2 separate regions of the Homo sapiens genome follow, and region 2 is linked to region 1. The links are contacts of gene promoters, found by promoter capture Hi-C in human tissues and cell types (Jung and others, 2019). All regions are on one chromosome and are shown on one strand. The core of a region is centred on a gene start or on the middle of the fragment in contact, and the rest is flanking DNA. Distances in the headings are between cores, read along the strand shown. Region 1 holds the start of MGAT4A (alpha-1,3-mannosyl-glycoprotein 4-beta-N-acetylglucosaminyltransferase A). Region 2 holds the start of PDCL3 (phosducin like 3).

Region 1 (3,625 bases), core at 537-3,036:
CCACATGGCAGGGGAGGCCTCACAATCATGGTGGAAGGCAAGGAGGAGCAAGTCACTTCTTACATGGATGGTGGCAGGCAAAGAGAGTTTGTGCAGCAAAACTCCCTTTTTTAAAACCATCAGATTTCGTGAGACTTATTCACTATCACGAGAACAGCATGGGAAAGACCCTCCCCCATGATTCAATTACCTCCCACCAGGTTCCTCCCACCACACAGGAATTGTGGGATTTACAATTCAAGATGATATTTGGGTGGGGACACAGCCAAACCGGAAGTAGAGAGAAAACACACTCAAAGTAGAGGGAAGAGCTGTCATTGGATATCATGGCTGTGATCCCCCAAGTTGTGTCCACAGTGCTGGGCAGTGGACAGATCTTTTGGTATGGTTCCCCTAAACTAGTAAGAGACTATGGGAGCAGGGATGTTACGTGTCTCTTCCTGAAGTTTTAAATTAGCCGTCATGGAGAAACCTCAACATGGGAAGGCTGATAACTCCATGCATGTTCTAGCTGATTATTAATTATTCTTATCTTGAGATAAAAATAATGGAATTTATCGGAGGTGGGGAGGGGACCCTGTTCTGATTGATGCCTCTTAAGAGTTTTCGATTATTGAAATTACTGTTTTCTGAAAAGAATCTACTTATTACTTTGGGAGTTTGGCAGGAACAAGGCTGCCTCCTTGATCTTTGGCCCCTCAATTCCCTTACAGGTTACTCGGTAGGATTGCTGTAAGGATTATTGCGGCAATAAAGTTAACACATCCCTTGTTTTTGAACCATTACCAGCTGTGTGACCTTGGGCAAGCCCTTTCACCTCTCAGCTAGTTTCCTCTTATGAAAAATGGGGAATAAATTTAAAACATGAGATATGCAATAAACGATCTAACACCCATGCCTGCTATACGGTTGCCTGCTATACAGTTAAGTATTCAAAAGAGGACGTACCCAGGGGTAGTTACTGTTAGCACAAGTCCTATGGATACTATGAAAAACAGGGACAGACCACCCAGGCTTTCTACAAACGAGTCAGTTTTTTGCCTTTGAAGTTAACCTCTAACCTTGTGAAACGGCGACAGATAAGGACATGGGGTTCAAGAAAACGGGGCATAGTGGAAAATCAGGGGCATTAGCACCCAACGATGTGCGTTGAAACCCTAGTTGTTTTTCTCCTTCCCAGTTGCTGAAATCAGCCCTTCTGGCCGATTCGCGGGGTTCTCACCGGGAAGTTGGGGCTGTCGCGACCGTCCGCGGGGCCTCGGGAGCTCCTGTGGGGCTGGGCCCGGGACCTGTCCCCGGGGAGGCCGCCCAGTTTGGGCGGCCCGGAGCGGGGCGCGCCGCTGGGAAGGGGCCGGGTCGAGGCAGGCAGGCGCCTGGGAGCTGGGGCAGCCCCGGGTGGTCGGGTCGCGCGCCGAGGCGCAGGCCGAGGGCTCGCCCGGGCCTTTGTTGGCCGCCGGAGCGGTCCCTGCACGCGCCGGGAGGATCTCAGCCAGATGTGGCAGCGGGGCGGCGGGGAGCAGGCCGGCGCCCAGAGCTGGGACCCGAGACCGCGGCTCCGCTCCGGACCTCGCCGTGACACCGATGAGCCGGGCCAGCCTCCCGAACGCTCCGCAGGCTGCGTGGCGGCGCCCCTAAGTGACAGTCGCGCGGGCCACTGGTGGGGCGCGGGGCGCGGGGCGCGGGGCCCGCGGGGCCGGCCAATGGCTGGCGGGGTCGGGGCGGCCCGGCGGGGCGGGGCGGGGCGGGCGCTCCAGCGGCGGGGGCGGAGCCGGCGGGGCGGGCGGGGCGGCCCGCAGCGGCGGCGGCAGCGGCGGCGGCGGCTACAGCAGCTCCGCCGGCAGCCGCGGGAGCACGGCGACGCCAGCGGCGGGTGAGGGGCTCGCGGCGGCAGCGGCGGCGCGCGGGGGCGGGAGGGGGCGCGGGGCGGCTGCGCGGAGGGCGCGGGAGTTGGGGGCGGCGCCGGCGGCCGGGCTGGCGGCCCCGGGCTGCGGGAGATCCACCTGCTGGTAAAGGAGCCTACTGCGCCGCGGCCCGGCCGGAGCTCTGTGCGGGGGAGCTGTTGGCGCCTCTGGGCGCGGGGCCGGCTCCGGGAGCGGCTGGGCCTCGGGGGCGGGCGGCGGGGCGCGGGCCGGGCCGTCCTCCCAGCGTCCCTGCCCCGCACCGCGCACCCCTCGGGGTCGCGCGCCCTCTCTGCGGCCGGCTCGGCGCCTGGTGCGTTCCTGGCGCTCCCCGGCGTGGCGGGGCTCGGCGACTTTGGGGGAAAGTGGAGCAAAGTGCTGATCCGGGGGGTGCGGAGGGGGAGGGACAGCTGCCTGTGGGACCCGGGGGCTGCGCGGGAGTCGGCGCTTTCGCGGGGGCCGCGGGGCAGGTGGGCGGGGCCGGACGGTCCGAGGCGCAGGGGCAGGGGCTGCTCCCGAGGGGACCGGCCGTGCAGCCTTCGCAGGGAATTTTCACACAAAGTGAAGGGCTGCGGGGCCCGCGTGAAAGAGCAGCCCCCGTTTCCCCAGGCCTCAGCTCTCTCCGTAATGAGGAAGCTGCAGTAGGACCCTGAGGCTGGGTCTCGGTGACTCCACCAAGTGTGCCAGGTGACATCTCGGAGGCGAGCTTTTCTGAGCTGGCAGTCGAGCCACTTGCACACCCGCCTTTATTCCTCGCAACAGTGTGTTTCTCTGGAGCGGTTTCATTGCCTACATTCCGCATTGGAAAATAGAAGCAGGCACAATGTATGCTTTGAATGCTTTCCACGTATTTTGCTGTTGTGCTTTTGCTGTTGGACAGATTATTTGATAAAAGATAATGACAGTCGTTCGTTGGAACGTAGACTGTAAATTTAGAATAAAAATATGCGTTTTGTGGTTTATGTTTCTTTTTCTGAATGTTTAAAAAACAGTTTGATGAACAGGTTATCTTGACATAGATTTCTTTAACCCACACGTGTAAACCCGAAAACGCACTGGGCGATGACATTACGTAAGCTGTATTAAAGAAAACTACTGACCCGTTTATAAATGGCAAATAAATGAATTTTGCCACAATTGTGGTGTGTAAAGTTATATAGGCTTACGTCATGGATTTTATTGATTCCAGATATCAGGGATTATTGTGCCTTTCATTCTTAAGTCACCTCTACCCTGTCTGTGGGATGCTGATTAAGGAAGATGCCAAACGTTCGGCAAAGTGTTCTCAGCCGTGGACTATATTGAGTATTTCAGAGAACACTTTAAAATAAGTAAAGGTTTTGTATCCAATAATAAAATGAAGACTGAAGCCCTTAAAGGATTGCTAACAAAACAGTCTGATGTCTAGAGTTGAAAGTTCCATTCACCTTTGGGAGGGTGGAGAAATGACTAGCAATTTTAGCCACTACCTTTTTTTGTTGTTGTTAAAGATTCAAACGTGTTAGATTATAGTCTCCGAGAATATTAAGGGGCTAGATTAAAATTTTTGCAAATGTGGACACTAATAAAAATGTGGGTCACCTGTGTCTTACAAGCCAGCCTGTGAATTATGTCTCATAATTGAAGAGTGAGTAGATCCTTGGTTTTACTCTTGTCCGAAGAGTTTCTTCACTTGTGCCGTGCAGTTAAACTTATTAGCTGGGAAACCCTAATTAAAAATGTATGAC
Region 2 (3,625 bases), core at 326-2,825, 1.8 Mb before region 1:
TCCCAGCACTTTGGAAGGCCTAGGCGGGCAGATCACCAGGTCAGGAGATCGAGACAATTCTGGCTAACATGGTGAAACCTTGTCTCTACTAAAAATACAAAAAATTACCCGGGAGTGGTGACGGGCGCCTGTAGTCCCAGCTACTCAGGAGGCTGAGGCAGGAGAATGGCGTGAACTGGAGAGGCGGAGCTTGCAGTGAGCCGAGGTCGCGCCACTGCACTCCAGCCTGGGCGACAGAGCAAGACTCTGTCTCAAAAAGAAACAAACAAACAAACAAACAAAAAGAGCAGAATCCTTTCTACAGGGTGGTCAGGGAAGGCCTCAAGGGACCTGAAGGACAGGGAATGCAAAGGAGGCCAGGGCAGCCCTCAAGCTACCACTTCACCATTTAAGAGTGTCTAGGCCAGGTGCGGTGGCTCATCCTGTAATCCCAACACTTTGGGAGGCTGAGGCTGGGCAACATAGGGAGACCCCATCTGCACAAAAAATTAGCCCAGAGTGGTGGGTGCACGCCTGTGGTCCCAGCTACTCCGGAGGCTGACAAGGGAGGATGGCTTAGCCCCGGGAGGTCGAGGTTGCAGTGAGCTGTGACAGAGCCACTGCACTCCAGCCTGGGCAACAGAGCAAGACCCGGTCTCAAAAAAAAAAAAAACAGTGTCTGGCTCCTGGCAGACACGCCCTCCCCTCCAGCCCCTAATGCCTCCCTCCCCAGCAAAACCCGCACCCTCTCCTCTCCATCTGCCACTAAGCAGAGATTAGAATTTCTGACCACTGCGGGATCTTTGGACAGTGACAAAATTTAGTTGGCATAGGTTTTCACCCACAATAGTGCCCATTTCCATGGTGTTTTCATTCATTCTCCTTAGGCTTTAACCAAATTCCGCTAGTAAATTGCAGCTACAGAAAAATAATTTATTTTACCTATTTTAATAAAAAAAAAAAAAAGGACGAAACAGAGGGACCCTCGCGGGGAGCTCTGGAACCCGAGCGGTCAGATAGGGAACACGCCCCAAGCGGATCCCAGGGCTCGGGGGAAGAGGGTGTAACTAAGCCCTCACCTGGCTCTCAGTGGAGCCAGGAACACCGGCTGTGGCGCTGCTTTACGTGCGGAAGACCCCAGGCCGGACCCTCCGCTTCCTAACACCTCTGCCCAGGTGTGCCTTAGGGGAGTTCAGGAGAGGAGGTAACTTTTGTTAGGCGGGATCCGGCAAGACCTTCACAGGCCCGGGTGGGTAGAGACCGCGAGAAGACATAGTCCCGGAGGACGAGGTTTGGGGGACCCGGCACACCGAGGCGGGGACGCCCAGGCCGTGGGTCCTGGTGGGACCACGCCCGCCTCCCGCACTGCGCCTGCGCAGGGCCTGGACGCGCCGGGCCTCCCTCGTGCCTGCGGCGCCGGAGCTTCCCCCAGGGCGGGCGTCCACTGCCCGCCCGGGCCTAACGAGACAAAGGAACGGGCCGCAGCCCCCAGACCCGAGACCCGTCCTAGCTCACCTGCATCTTGTTTCCAGTTCAGTTGCTCAAACCAGCTGTGCCGCAGCGCCCCCGCCCCTCAGCTCTCTTTTGTGCACGCGCACAGCGCCGCCACGCCTCTTCCCCCAGCCCAGCCTTCGCCCCGCCCAGGGACGAGCGGCGGGGAGTAAGGGCGGAAGCAACAGCCTTGAGTCTGCGCCTGCTCTTCAAGGAACTGGCACAGAAGCGTTCGCATGCGCCAGATAGGATCTGCCTACTGTCCTGCTCGGAGTGCACTTGACCTGGTTCTAATTCTGGTGGCTGCCTTATTAGGGCTGGTCTTCAGCGGAGGAGGGGTGGGGCTGGGTGGAGGAGGAGCCCGGGGCCGTGTGCCTTTTCCAGCTGCCGGCCCAAACCTGTAAAGACGTCTCGCTCTGACTAGCCTAACAAGTCAGAAATAGAAAATTGCCTCTAGGCCGGGCGCGGTGGCACACGCCTGTGATCCCAGGCCGAGGCGGGCGGATCACTTGAGGTCAGGAGTTCGAGATCAGCCTGGCCAACATGGTGAAACCCCGTCTCTACTAAAAATACAAAAAAATTAGCCGGGCGTAGTGGTGGTTGCCTGTAATCCCAGCTACTCTGGAGGCTGAGGCAGAAGAATTGCTTGAACGGGGGAGGCGGAGCTTGCAGTGAGCTGAGATCTCTCCACTGCACTCCAGCCTGGGTTACAGAGCGAGACTCCGTCTTAAATAAATAAATAAATAAAAATGATGCAGGGTCTTCTGGAATTCACCCACGATCACTTCAGCCTTGGAAAAGGCAACTCATTAATAAGACATTGAGAGCCTGCTGTGTACCAGGCACCATTCTAGGCTCTGCAGATGCAGCAGTGAGCAAAACACTAAAACAAAGGTGAAAGTCATCTGCCGTGCCTGAGTATCAGGAGACCCATGTATGCAGGCACACAGGCACTGAGCAAAAAGCAGCAATCTGACTTGTAAAATGCAGGTATTGGGCTCCAGAGCTTCTGCCCAGGCACACTCCAAGTTTAAGAGAGCAATATTCCTACCTGGTATGGAAGGAAGCATCTTGCACACGTGGGCTAACTTGCTGCCTCCTGGCAACTAAGCGGACACAGAGAGTAGAGACCCACACACCTGTGAGATAGGCGCAGGGCTTCCAACCGTGGCTATGCATTAGAATCACCTGGAAGCCCTCAAAAACTAGGAATGTCCTGGGGCTCCATCCCCAGACAAATTAAATCCTTGGAAATGAGGCCTAGCACAGATACTTTCTTAAAGATCCTCAGGTGATGCTAAAGTGCACAGTCGTTGATATAGAGTGAATCAAATGATTGCTTGAGAGCAAGGAGTTTTTATTTAATTTATAAGGATCCTTAAGATTTTTCTCACTCATTTCAACTGAATTACAGGCCCTTTTAGGGATTTATTAATGTATCTGGCAGCACAATGTTTGTTAATGAATTTTCCTTGGGTCTTACCACCAAAATCAGGACTGGAACTAACTTTGAGTTTGATCCTGTGCTTCTTGCTCAGTCCTGCACAGCAACAGAGCAGGTGGTGTTTTGTCCTTTCCTCATCCCCAGCCTTTGCTGTTCCCTGAGGCCTGTTTTCCAGGACTCAGCTATTCTACAGTTGCTCTTCCCCACATGATCCGGTCAGAGGCATTCTAACCAAAGCCAATCCATCCTGAATAGGGGATGGGGAAAAGGAGGCTGAGACCTACTGGGTTGTATTCCCAGAAGGTTACGCATGCTTAGTCACAGAATATTTACCAAACAGACCTAAGACAACAGACCCAGGAAATGGCCTGGTGTCCTGAAAGCTTTCTTTTTTCTTTCTTTTTTTTGAGATGGAGTTTCACTCTTGTTGCCCAAGCTGGAGTGCAATGGCGTGATCTCGGCTCACTGCAATTTCCACCTCCTGGGTTCAAGCGATTCTCCTGCCTCAGCTTCCGAATAGCTGGGATTACAGGTGCGCGCCACCACGCCTGGCTAATTTTTTTTTTTTGTATTTGTAGTAGAGACGGGGTTTCACTGTGTTAGCCAGGCTGGTCTCGAACTCCTGACCTCAGGTGATCCACCTGCCTTGGCCTCCCAAAGTGCTGGGATTAAAGGTGTGAGCCACCGCACCTGGCCTTGTTTTGTTTTTTT

The links. The method cuts DNA at HindIII sites, captures the fragments that hold promoters and counts their contacts. A contact is called where the count stands out against the background at its distance.
Region 2: a contact is called between the fragment with the promoter of PDCL3 here and the fragment with the promoter of MGAT4A in region 1, in 1 of the 25 tissues and cell types used here (mesenchymal stem cells).

Annotation. Positions count from the first base shown.
Region 1 is chr2:98,729,293-98,732,917 of GRCh38, reverse strand. MGAT4A (alpha-1,3-mannosyl-glycoprotein 4-beta-N-acetylglucosaminyltransferase A) reads left to right here and starts at 1,786. Exons shown (of 16, transcript NM_012214.3): 1 at 1,786-1,870. It overlaps LOC107985922 (a long non-coding RNA gene), which reads right to left and starts at 1,637. Exons shown (of 2, transcript XR_007087150.1): 1 at 1,223-1,637. RefSeq lists silencers at 838-1,132, 1,239-1,428, 1,449-1,778. The HindIII fragment of the contact is 6,529 bases long and covers 1-3,625 here.
Region 2 is chr2:100,560,943-100,564,567 of GRCh38, reverse strand. PDCL3 (phosducin like 3) reads right to left here and starts at 1,575. Exons shown (of 6, transcript NM_024065.5): 1 at 1,495-1,575. The coding sequence starts at 1,500. RefSeq lists a silencer at 1,249-1,588 and an enhancer at 2,034-2,830. The HindIII fragment of the contact is 15,730 bases long and covers 1-3,625 here.